Regions from separate parts of the Homo sapiens genome. Here region 2 is linked to region 1. Evidence: promoter capture Hi-C in 16 types of primary human blood cells and fetal thymus (Javierre and others, 2016). All regions are on one chromosome and are shown on one strand. The core of a region is centred on a gene start or on the middle of the fragment in contact, and the rest is flanking DNA. Distances in the headings are between cores, read along the strand shown. Region 1 holds the start of BTBD7 (BTB domain containing 7). Region 2 overlaps GON7 (GON7 subunit of KEOPS complex).

What was found. The method cuts DNA at HindIII sites, captures the fragments that hold promoters and counts their contacts. A CHiCAGO score of 5 or more calls a contact.
Region 2: a fragment that was not itself captured here is called in contact with the fragment with the promoter of BTBD7 in region 1 in 1 of 17 cell types (fetal thymus); the score reaches 5.2 in fetal thymus.

What each region holds. Positions count from the first base shown.
Region 1 is chr14:93,330,371-93,336,798 of GRCh38, reverse strand. BTBD7 (BTB domain containing 7) reads left to right here and starts at 3,763. Exons shown (of 11, transcript NM_001002860.4): 1 at 3,763-3,979. It also overlaps a transcript of UNC79 not described here. The HindIII fragment of the contact is 5,146 bases long and covers 2,706-6,428 here.
Region 2 is chr14:93,200,045-93,206,472 of GRCh38, reverse strand. GON7 (GON7 subunit of KEOPS complex) reads left to right here. Exons shown (of 2, transcript NM_032490.5): 2 at 2,691-3,579. The coding sequence ends at 2,785. Among named protein-coding and RNA genes, the nearest start is that of GON7, 3.8 kb to the left of the region's middle. RefSeq lists an enhancer at 1-171. The HindIII fragment of the contact is 7,279 bases long and covers 1-6,428 here.

The DNA.
Region 1 (6,428 bases), core at 2,514-5,013:
TCATATTTTAAATACAGTTGAATCTATGAATCTTGTCTTCATGATTAATGTTTTCTGTGACTTGCTTGTCTTTTCTTCCCCAAGGCAATGAATATTTTCCAATATTATTTTCTAAAACCTTTATTAATTGTATTATTTGTTAATTTAATAATTATTAAGGCCATGTGCAGTGGCTCACGCCTGTAATCCTAGCACTTTGGGAGGCCAAGGTGGGCGGATCACGAGGTCAGGAGTTTGAGACCAGCCTGGCCAACATGGTGAAACCCTGTCTCTACTAAAAATACAAAAAATTAGTCAGGCATGGTGGCACGCACCTGTAATCCCAGCTACTCGGGAGGCTGAGGCAGGAGAATCACTTGAACCCAGGAGGCGGAGGTTGCACTGAGCTGAGATTGCGTCATTGCACTCCAGCCTGGGTGACAGAGCAAGACTCTGTCTCAAGAAAAAAAAAAATTGAAAATTGAATAATTATTAAGCACTTCTTAATTAAGCATCTACAAGGTACTTATCACTGTTCTGGGGTTTTCAATCCTCTTCACCTTTTAGACTTCAGGAAATTCAGAAAAATGCATGAAAACAGGATTGTTACATGCAGAGAAATAGGGGGAGATAAAATTTGTCTTTTCTCCTTAATTTCAAAAACCCAGCTTCCATCCTGTATTTCCAGGAAGATGAGTGTGGGAATGGGTTTCAGTGGATGGTTATGTGTGGTAAAAAAGGGGGGTACAAAGGAAGGAAAAGACTGGAGTGACAGACCATGGAATATACCATGAAATGTTGATTACTCTTATTTTCAACATAGATGACCAGGTGGATGGGATGCCATTCACTGATGGAGGGAGTGGAGAAAGGAACAAAACATAAATTCAGGACTTTTGGTTGAAAGCCACAGAAGTTCACTGTTTTTACCCATTTCCAACTAACTTAAGATAAAAAGAGGTGTTAGGGCAACTTAATGGCTTCTAAAAATGAAAAGACCAGGGATGGGTTGGTTTCAGGCCCAGGTAGGCCCAGGTATTCAAATGATGTCATGGTTTTCCTTTCTCTCACTTTGTTTCTTTGTTTATGGTCTTCCTCCTTTCCTACCGCACATGGCTTTCTCCTCATTGGCAAACAAAGCCAATTTACATGTCCTTTCGAGTCATAATCCCGGAGAAATAGAGTAAGAAGAAACATCTCCTCTGAGAGTGTGGCAAAAATTTCCAGAAAAGGTTCTGGTTGACCTATTTGTGTCATATGGCCATCCAGATCTATCTGATTCTAGAATGCATGCTGTTAACCACTACTTAGTACCATCTTAACACTAGCCTTAAAAAAATGTTTTTCACTCTGTCTTCTTATTTAGATTCTAAGCTCCTTAAGTACAAAGATCCATTTATTTTTTACCCCCAGCATGTAGTACCGTGCTTGGCACATGGTACTGGATACTTTAAATGTGTATCGGACTGAACTAAAATAAACATCTAAATTCTGATGAGTGTGTAAACTGAGCTAATTCAGGATCTCAAAAGTACAGTTAAATGGTATAATAAGGAAACAGTGAATGAATTAAAGGGTAGAAAAAAATCATGGATCACTTACAAATGGTTTCTAGATCCAAACAGTCTACTAGAAGTCTCCAGCTGTGCAGATAGACAAAAGGACAAGGTGCAACCAGCAGACCTTACTTGGCTTTTCAAAAAGTTTTAGATTTCCACATCAAAGGCTGTTAGAAAAAGTGTTATCCTGAAATTACTTAGAATTCTATTGTTGTTGATACCATTTTAATTTTGTTTTTTAAATTGTGGCTAGGAAATAGAAGCAAAGTCAAGTAATAAAGGTTAGTAATAAGTGTAAACAGTGGGGACTGATCTTATTTAACATTTCCATAAATTATAAAGAAGCAGTGTTTACACACCGCTTTTTAGTTTGCTAATCATAGCTCTTTCAGTTAATGCAATACAGTCATCCCCCATATACTATATACGTGGGATTGGTTCCAGGACCCACCACATATACCCCAATCCAAGCATACTCAAGTCTGCCTGTCCGTCCTGTGGAATGTGAGTATAAGAAAAGTCGGCCCTCTCAATACGGTGTTTAGAATCCCATGTACCAGGTTGCATTGATCGATCCGCACAGTTCAAACCCGTGTTGTTCAAGTGTTAACTGTATTTAGCAAATTAAGACAAAGGTAAAATGATGGAAAATAACAGTAAATGGCTTGAATTTAGATAAGGTTCACTTACGCCTTTGGGGAAGTATAAAAGTGTGGAACAAGAGGTGGACACTCAGAGGTAATCATTGGCTCCAATTAGATGGACCTATTTCTTTTATATTTTCTCACTTTTCCATGCATTTCTTGTCTATCGCCCTGAGGCTGTATGTTCAACTGAAGTGACCCTTACCAGCTAGAGGGGAATTTCAGGCAAGGGACTGCTACAATCTCTGCTACAATCTCCAAACCTTCAAGGATTGGGTAAGAGGGTGAAAAGGGTGAGATGGGTAAAGAAAATGAAGTAATACAAATTGGAAAGAGCTATCCTTTTCAAGGAAGTAAGGTGATGAAGAATGAGGGTGAGGAAAATACAAATCTGAAGGAAGTCCAGAGGAAAACAACAATGATATTGTCTCCAACTGAATATGAAAAGCATAAAATAATGGAGGGTCAAGAGATGGTTAAAAACACATCACAAAATTCCAAATTGCTCTTATCCTTTGAAGCTTAGAGGTGGTTTCAGAACAACAACAACAAAAAACTGTGTGACACAAAACTTGTTAAACAATGGGTAGAGATTGAAAATGCAAATACAATACTTTCAAATAAATTCCCAGAGTTGCTAATGTCTATCAGAGGAAAAGGAGGTGTAACGGTGCCTCCTCACTGGGTTCAGAATGCCTGGGTTCTGATCTTGGCTTGCCTACTTGTTAGTATTTCTGAGCCTGTCTCCTTGGTTGTAAAACAGCAATAAAAACACCTATCCTGACTACCACAAAGGGTGGCTTTGGCGTTCAAATGAAACCATGGATCTCTCTGGAAAACGACAGTGCCCCATAAATACAGTATTTTTGTTATTGCATCGCTGAAATTATTGCAAACCCCCAAACAAGGGGCATCTAGGGAAGAGCGACTTGGCTCTCCCACGTGGCGACTGTGTGTTTTCATCAATTTTGTCCTTTGTTTACAGGGGTATCTTGTTAAGGAAAACTTTTCAGTGTCTTAAAGATTATTTTTTAACCTACTACACAAGTAGCAAGGTGGTGCCTGTAAAAGTACCATGCAGACAAGTGCTTACGATAGACAAGTGCTCACTGCCAAGAAGCAGCCACCGGAATGCCAGGACTGTCAGCAATGACTTTCCGCGGAAGAGTTGTTCTCGAGAAAGATGCACTCATTGCATGCGACCACCCGAGGGACGCCGGCCGCCGAACGGAAACATGAATTCGTGGAAATGGCCATCTGGTGACGTAGTAGTGACACAGTTCTTATATTCTGATACATTTAATAATGTGTCACAATTCGCTGGACTAAGCAGGATGCTGCCACAAGAGGCAAACTCCCAGCGACCCGACGCCCGGCTCCCAGCCGACGAGCAAAAATAATGCGCGCGCACTCCGCTCCCATGGATCCAGCGAACGCACCGCCCCCCCACGCGGCCCGACTCGCGCGGCGACGTCGGGCCACGTGACCCTGAGCGGGACGACGGCAGGGGAGGGCGGGGGCTCCGGCCGGCTCCGCAGCGCCGCGCAGGCGCCCCAGGGCCACGCCGAACCGAGCCCCTCCTGCTCCGTCTAGGAGTCAAAATGGCGGCGAGGGGAACCTGGAGCAGTCCCGGAGCCTGAGCCACTGACAGGAGAGGAGAGGGCGGCGGCGGCGGCGGTGGGAGGAGGATGGCCGGGGGTGCTGGCGCCGGTGCGGACGGCGGTGCTGGTGGCGGCGGCGGCGGAGGCGACGGCAGCGGTCCCAGCGGCAGCAGCAGCGGCGGGAGGAGCCTCCGGGGTGAGTGTCCCTTGGTGTCTCTGAGGCTGTGGAGCCGAGGCTGTGTCCGGTGTGGCGCGGGGCGTCCGGGAGAGGAAGGGGCTGTTCTTAGGCGTGGGGGCGCCGGGGCTGGGGCCAAGCCGCCGCGGGAGGCGCTGGGGCGCCGGGCGGGGAGGGGCCAGTCGTCCGTCTGGGGCTGAGGCGCGGCGGCGCCGGACTGGCCGGTCTCTGTGCGCTCCGAGGGGCGGGCTGGAGCGCGCCGCCGTCCCTGGGGCAGGGGCGCGAGGTGTGGCGCTCGGGGCGGGGAGAGCGGCCCGAGGGAGTCGCGACGGCAGCCCGGCCGGCTTTGGGCTCCGGGCGCCGAGGGGCGGGACCCGTCGCTCCCAGGACGCTGAGAAACCGCTCCCGAGACGGGGGCGCGTGTTTACCCGGGTGCGGGGTTGCGACCGCCAGGGGTGGGCGTGAGAGTGGCCGGCGGGGTCTGGGAAGGGAGCAGGCCTGAGGACTGCTACTCCCAGGGGAAGTTAGATTGTCCGGGTAAGTTACTATTGCGGGATAAACCTGGAATTGAGCTTTGACAGGTTGGGAGGGAGACAATACCGAGTGTTTGATAAAGAAGAGGAGGCTGTGCTTGTTGGACTACTTGAATGGCAAAAAGTGTGCATATTTCAGTACCTTATTTGCACAGTGTTTGCTAGCTTTACCCCGAGGGTGAGAACTTTCTCACCGTTTTTCAAGAAACTCTGAGGAGTGTTGTTTCTCCTGTGAACTACAATTGCACGTCTTCACATACCAGCACAGATAATAAGTACTCTGGAGTAGGCCTAATTTACAGAAGCAGTCTTGGTTATCTACACCAGAGCACTGTTAACTCTGCGAAAACATCTTACTGTAATGAGAAAGTAGACATTTTTACAGAATTACTTAGCTTTTTCAACTAACAACCTTTTTGGGGGGGGGGAGACGGAGTCTCGCTCTGTCACCCAGGCTGGAGAACAGTGGTGCGATCTCGACTCACTGCAACCTCCGCCTCTCAGGTTCAAGCGATTCTCCTGTCTCAGCCTCCCAAGTAGCTGGGATTACAGGCGCCCGCTGCCACGCCCGGCTAGTTTTTGTATTTTTAATAGAGACGTGGTTTCACCATGTTGGCCAGACTGGTCTCGAGCTCCTGACCTCTGGTGATCCGCCCGCCTCGTCCTTCCGAACTACTGGGATTGCAGGCGTGAGCCACCGCGCCCGGTCTGGTCAACTAACAATCTTTTGTCCCTAATAGCATCTGTTTCCTTTAGATTGCTGAAATGAATTGCTTTCTTCCTGAAATGTGGAAGAAAGACTTGAAATTGCTTTGCAAGAATCATACGTTGTTAATAGCAACTGTTATTAGACTTGTCATGGAATTTTGGAGTCAGAAAAACTTTTAGAGATCTAAAGGTGTGAATATTGTTTTAGAGCCGGGAAACCAGACCCAGAGAGGCGAGTGACTTGTTGTGGATCCTACAGCTGGCGATGGATTAGACCAAAACTAAGATGTAGGCCTCTACACCCCATTACCCCATTTAGAGAGCTCATTGTTACTACACTGCTGAGCTGCTTACTTTTCATTGATTGCATTCTTCACCATTCACTACCTACCCCTATCCATAGGGTTTTGGTGTAATAAAGTTGAAAGCGAAAATGAGAGCCTCTGTCTCATTCTGACAGCTACTTCAAGTAACTGATGAAGATTTTTTTTTTTTCCTAACCTGAACTTAATAAAAACGGAGTGATATTTCGTTTGGAGTTTTCTTAGGCTCATGACTACATTTTCACCCAGTTTTAGCATGGCTCATTCTTGCATGAATTCAGTAAAACTCATAGGTCAATATTCTGTCCCACAAAACCTGACTACTGTATTGTTTTGTGTCCCAACACCAGCATTTAAACAAGGTTTTTCTATCAGACTCTGATTTTAGGATTTAAAGCACCTGTGTTGATTTCTAGGTTACACTACCTAGTTTCCAGGTATCATCTTGAGTCACAGCATTTTTATAGTGTGTCTCAGGTAAACCTTCGGAAGTGCAGTAATGCCAAAGTTATTCTGATTTCAGATTCTAGTCACGGAAGCTCACACATCCAAAATTACATAGGTGACTGTTGAAGGTCTGCTTTTTGTTTTGCATTAGATGAATGATGTGGAAGAAAGGAAAGAAACATAATATTAGGTTGGTGCAAAAGTAACTGCAGTTTTTGCCATTAACATATAGACTTTTCCCTCAAGTTCTTATTGGAAAGATCAGGTGTACCAACATGAGTCTCGAAGACAATCTAGTGAGTTCTACTAATGCAAAGAATGCTGTTGGTATACAGGGTAGAGAGAGATGAGTGAGACCCCAAGAGTCCAAAGAACTTGGGAAACTTCGGATTTGAGCTGGCCTATGAAAGTTTAGATTTACCGAGAGATTGTAGCAGTTACTTTGTGAGGAAAAAGCAA
Region 2 (6,428 bases), core at 1,815-4,314, 130 kb after region 1:
CGCTATTTCGTTTATTTCACAAAAAAACGTGTCGAATGCCTACTATTATGTGCCAAACCCTGAGCTGAGCCCTGGAGGAAGAATGAGGTGAATGCGACTCAGTTCCTGCCCTTGTGAAACACAAGGGGACTAGACAGGCAGACACTCTTATTAAAAGTGGAAGTGGTCCGGGCTGGTGGCTCACGCCTGTAATCCCTGCACTTTGGGAGACCGAGGCAGGCAGATCACGAGGTCAGGAGTTCGAGACAAGCCTGGCCAATATGGTGAAACCCTGTCTCTACTAAAAATACAAAAATTAGCTGGGCGTGGTGGCATGCTCCTGTAGTCCCAGCTACTCTACTCGGGAGGCTGAGGCAGAAGAATCGCTTGAACCCTGGAGGCAGAGGGTGCAGTGAGCCGAGATCGCGCCACTGCACTCTATCGTGGGCGACAGAGCGAGACTCCGTCTCAAAAAAAAAGAAAAAAAAAGTGAAAGTGGTTCTGTGGTCCTCTGTAACTGTTGCAAACCCAGACACCCTAGGAAGTCTTCAGAAAGGATAAGACTTTTGAGCTGGGTGTTGAATAAAAAGGAGTTTTATCAGGTGTGAAACTACAGACATACTTGGAAGAGTACAATCTATCGCAGAGTAGGAACAGGTTCCAAAGACTGGGACAGACTTCATTTTATCACGTATTAACTCCCAGAGACTCCCTTGCCTTTCCAGTTTTGTAGGTGCAGTTTGAAAGTAGAAACATGAAGTTTAACTGCATTATTTTTAAAAAATTGCCTCGAATGCAGAAATAGGCAGGTACTTTTTTTTTTTTTTGAGATGGAGTCTAGCTCTGTCACTCAGGCTTGAGTGCAGTGGCACAACCTTGGCTCACTGCAACCTCTCCCTCCCCGGTTCAAGCGATTCTCCTGTCTCAGCCTCCGGAGTAACTGGGATTACAGGCACCCGCCCCCACTCCCAGCTAATTTTGTATTTTTAGTAGAGACAGGGTTTCACTGTGTTGGCCAGGCTGGTCCCGAACTCCTGACCTCGTGATCCACCCGCCTCAGCCTCCCAGAGTGCTGGGATTACAGGCGTGAGCCACCACACCTGGCCAGGCAGGTACATTTTAACCGTCCTGAGCTGAAAAACCCAAGAACTAGATATTAGAGTCAGGATTTACAATTATGTAAGAAGAGCTTAAACTGTACTTTCCTTCCATCTTGGGAAATACATCTTGATAATATGGATGTTGGCTATAATCAAAAAGAACAATAACAAGTGTTGGCTGGAATGTGAAGAAATTGGAGACCTTGTACATTGTTGGTGGAAATGTAAAACAGTGTAACCACTGGGAAAAAGAGTTTGGTAGCTCCTCAAAAAGTTGACATGAAGTTACCATATGACCCAGCAGTTCCACTGGTAGTCCTCCCAAGAAAACTGGAAACGTATGTTCACACAAAAACTTACGCATGAATGTTGATAACAGCAGCATTTATAGTAGCTAAAACGTGGAAACAACAATTGGCTGGGCTTGGTGTTGCGCCTTTAGGAGGTGGGAGGATCATGTGAACCCAAGAGTTTGAAGCTGCAGTGGGCTGATTGCTCCACTGCACTCCAGCCTGGAGGACAGAGTGAGGCCTCATCTCTTCATCTCTAAAAATGATAATTTTAAAAAATAGAAATAATGCAAATATCCATCAACCGATGAGTGCATTAACAAAATGTGGTATATCCATACAATGGACTATTATTAGCAATAAAAAGTAATGAAGTATTAACATGTGCTACAACATGAATGAACCTTGAAAACATTATGCTAAGTGAGAGCCAGACACAAAAGGGTACATGTTGCATGATTTTGTTTATATGAATGTACAGAATAGGCAAATCCATAGAGATAGAGTAGATTAGTGAGCCAGGTGCAGTGGTGGGCACCTGTAGTCCCAGCTACTCTAGAGGCTGAGACAGGAGGATCACTTGAACCTGGGAGTTTGAGTCTAGCTGGGCAACATAGCAAGACCCTATCTCTAATAAGGGGGAAAAAAAGTAGATTAGTGGTTGCCGAAGGCTGAGGGGAATGGAAAGCGACTGCTAATGGGCATATCATTTCTCTTTGGAGTGATGAAAGTGTTCTAGGTGATGGTTGCACAAGCTAGTGAATATACTAAAAACCACTAGGCCGTACACTTTTTAAAAGAGTGGATTTTGGCCAGCCACAATGGTTCATACCTGTAATCCCAGCACTTTGGGAGGCCGAGGCGGGCGGATCACGAGGTCAGGAGAACAAGACCATCTTGGCCAACATGGTGAAACCCCATCTCTACTAAAATGCAAAAAATTAGCCGGGCGTGGTAGCGCGTGCCTGTAATCCCAGCTACTTGGGAGGCTGAGACAGAGGAATCGCTTGAACCCCGGAGGCGGAGGTTGCAGTAAGCTGAGATCGTGCCACTGCACTCCAGCCTGGCGACAGAGCAAGACTATCTCAAAAAAAAAGAAAAAAAGAGTGGATTTTATGGTGAATGAACTAATATTTCCAAAGAGGAAAGTGATAGAAAATAAAGATTTTAAACACTGAAATTCTCAAAATCATTTTAATCTAAAATGTGCAGGTTTTATTAATCCCTAAAGTGAAATGGTCTCATTATCAACCACTTTAGCTATATATATTTCTTTCAGCCATAGAACGTATTGTCATACAACAAATATTTATTTTAAAAGGTGATGATGAAGATGATGCAGAAGATGAAAATAACATTGATAACAGAACTAACTTCGATGGACCATCTGCAAAACGGCCAAAAACACCGTCTTAACAATAGCCTTCATGACATTTAAAAGATGGCTGTTGTATCCTTATTGTCACACTAGGACATTTAAGGAAGACTTATGCTCTAATTTGGAAAAAGCATTTGTGTTGTTCTCCTGGGACAATTTTGTCAAAGAGAAAACTGGTTTTTCTGTTTCTAGCAAAGATAGTAAAGGCTTAGAAATAAAATCTGTTTTCTTGAGAAATAAATTTCAGACCCTGGAAGGAAAATAGAACACTTCATAATGTATAAAATCCTCTAAGTTGGCAACTGAATTTTTATCATTGTTTTCTATTTTTAAAATAATCATTGATTTGTGTGATGTCTACATCTTTTAACTTCTGGTTCTGTTATAAAGAGTACATGTCACGGTTCATAGGCAGTAACATTTCAGAGAACTGACATGAACAAGTAGTGAAAATTGGGCATTAAATATAAAAATAACAGTTCTTCATAAACAGAAGGAAAATAAGGAAATAGAAATACCGACGAGAAAGGAGAGTCCTTGAAAGAGACCCAAGGAAACCCTGAATTCATACCCACGTCAAATATGCACATATCCTGAGATGATGCCACTTTGATGAATGTGCATTAGTCTGATTTATCATGTACCTTAAGAGAGCCAGATGGGGTATGTTTTTGTGCTGTGATATGGTATTTATACAGGTACAAATATAAGGCCTTAAGTAAACAATCTGCATTGATTACAATTTGGATATTTCCTCTCCTCCTGTAGCCATACTTTGATTTTGCTTTAAAAAGATTATTGAATCCTTTTAAAAATATATATTCCTAAAATATGTATGTGTGTGTGTTTCTTTTCTGCTCGTCAGTGGGACTAAGGCATTTTTATTTGCTGTGCATCCTTCCTGATTTAGATAGCTTCAATGCAAAGAAATCAAGTAGCATGTACCTAGTAAAATACAAATAGTCATGGAATTTTAGAGTTGGAAGTCACTTTACAAATTATGTGATTTATTTCAGAGATAAATCTAAGGATAAGTATTTGCCCTCAGATTACAGAGCTAACCATTGACAAACTGGGTTACATAAATAGCCTTTAGATTTTTTTTAAGCTGATAAAAGGTGAGAGAAGATCAACTTTTTTTTTCTTTTTTTTTTTTTTTTTGAGACAGAGTTTCACTCTTGTTGCCCAGGCCGGAGTGCAGTGGCACAATCTTGGCTCACTGCAACCTCTCCCTCCCGGATTCAAGCAATTCTTCTGCCTCAGCCTCCCAAGTAGCTGAAATTACAGGCATGTGCCACCACGCCCAGCTAATTTTGTATTTTTAGTGGAGATGGGGTTTCACCATGTTGGTCAGGCTGGTCTCGAACTCCTGACCTCAGGTGATTCACCCACCTTGGCTTCCCAAAGTGCTGGGATTACAGGCATGAGCCACCACGCCAGGTCAATTTTTTTTTTTTTCCCAGGGTCAACTTTTTTTTCAGATGGAGTCTTGCTCTGTTGCCCAGGCTGGAGTGCAATGGTGCGATCTGGGCACACTGCAACCTCCACCTCCCAGGTTCAAGCAATTGTCCTGCTTCAGCCTCCTGAGTAGCTGGGATTGTAGGTGCACACCACCACGCCCGACTAATTTTTATATTTTTAGTAGAGATGGGGTTTCACCATGTTGGTAAGGCTGGTCTCGAACTCCTGACCTCGTGACCCGCCCGCCTCAGCCTCCCAAAGTGCTGGGATTACAGGCGTGAGCCACCGTGCGTAGCCTTTTTTTCTTTCTTTCTTTTTTAAATTTTTATTTTTAGACAGGGTTTCACTCTGTCACCCAGGCTGGAGTGCAGTGGCACGATCGCGGCTCACTGTCACTGCAACCTCCGAGTCCCAGGCTTAGGTGATCTTCCCACCTCACCCTCTCAAATAGCTGGGACCACAGGCATGCACCAGCACACCTGGCTAATTTTTTTGTATTTGTAGAGATGGTTTCACCACGTTGCCCAGGCTGGTCTAGAACTCCTGGACTCAAGGGATCTGCCCACCTCTGCCTCCCAAAGTGCTGGGATTACAGGCGTGAACCACCATGCCCGGACTAATCAACTTTTATGAATCACTTTTATTGTGAAATAATTTAAGTGAAACTCAATTTACACACTTTTTCATATCCTTGAAATATTGTTTTAGTTGGAACAGCAAGCAGCCTTCCACTAAGTACTCTTGGGCAATCAAAACAGTGCCAACTAGAAAAAGTTATGGATGGTCAGAAATTATCTTTGTTTAGTTTATGTTGATGTTTCTAACATTTAACTTATTTATTATAGTACTGTTATCTCTATACAATCATTAAAGAAAAAACTGGTTGGGCACGGTGGCTGATGGCTGTATTCCCAGCACTTTGGGAGGCCGAGGTGGGCGGATCACCTGAGGTCGAGGGTTCGAGACCAGCCCAACCAACATGGAGCAACCCAGTCTCTACTAAAAATACAAAATTTGCCTGGTGTGGTGGCACATGCCTGTATTCCCAGCTACTTGGGAGGCTGAGGCAGGAGAATAGCTTGAAACTGGGAGGCAGAAGTTGCAGTGAGCCAGTGGTGCCATTGCACACCAGACTGGGCAACAAGAGCGAAACTCCATCTCAAAAAAGAAAAGAAAAAAACTTACCTGTATATACTGAAAAGAGAGCACATTGTTAAACTGATATTTGAACCTTTTCTCTGAACATTTTATGTTTCCTCCTTTGGAAAATGTGGTTATAAAGAAGAAATTTCAAGATAATATTTGTGTTTGTGTCCCAGTGTTTTTAGGTTCTGATTTATAAGATTGGTCTTTTAATTAATTTTAATACTGATTTCAATTCTAATACTGTCTTCTTCATAAGTAAGCCATGTGTTTGACAAAGATGGACCAGTATAGAAGAAATGCTTTGCCAAGTTGCCTAATCTGCTGCTGCTCTTGGGTCTCACTGTCACTCAGGCTGGAGTACAGTGGCGCAATCAGCTCACTGCAGCCTGGAATTCCTGGGCTCAGGTGATCCTCGCACCACAGCTTCCCAAGCAGCCAAGCACTAGGTGTGTGCCATCACGCCAGGCTAATTTATTTTTTATCTTATTTCTTCTTTTTTTTTTTTTAGACGGAATTTCGCTCTTGTTGCCCAGGCTGGAGTGCAATGGTGCAATCTTGGCTCATTACAACTTCCACCTCCCAGGTTCAAGCGATTCTCCTGCCTCAGCCTCACAAGTAACTGGGACTACCGGCATGCGCCACCAGGCCAGGCTAATTTTGTATTTTTAGTAGAGATGGGGTTTCTCCATGTTGATTAGGCTGATCTCAAACTCCCGACCTCAGGTAATCCACCCGCCTTGGCCTTCCAAAGTGCTGGGATTACAGACACCGCACCCGGCCATTTTTTTTTTTTTTTTTTTTTGAAATGGAGTTTCACTCTTTTTGCCCGGGCTGGAGTGAAATGGCATGGTCTTGGCTCACTGTAACATCCACCTCCCAGGTTCAAGCGATTCTCATGCCTCAGCCTCCCAAGCAGCTGGGATTACAGGTGCCTGCCACCACGCCTGGCTAATTTTTGTATTTTAGTAGAGACATGGTTTCACCATGTTGGCCAGGCTGGTCTTGAACTCCTGACCTTAGGTGATCCACCCACTTTGGCCTCCCAAAGTGCTTGGATTACAGGTGTGAGCCACC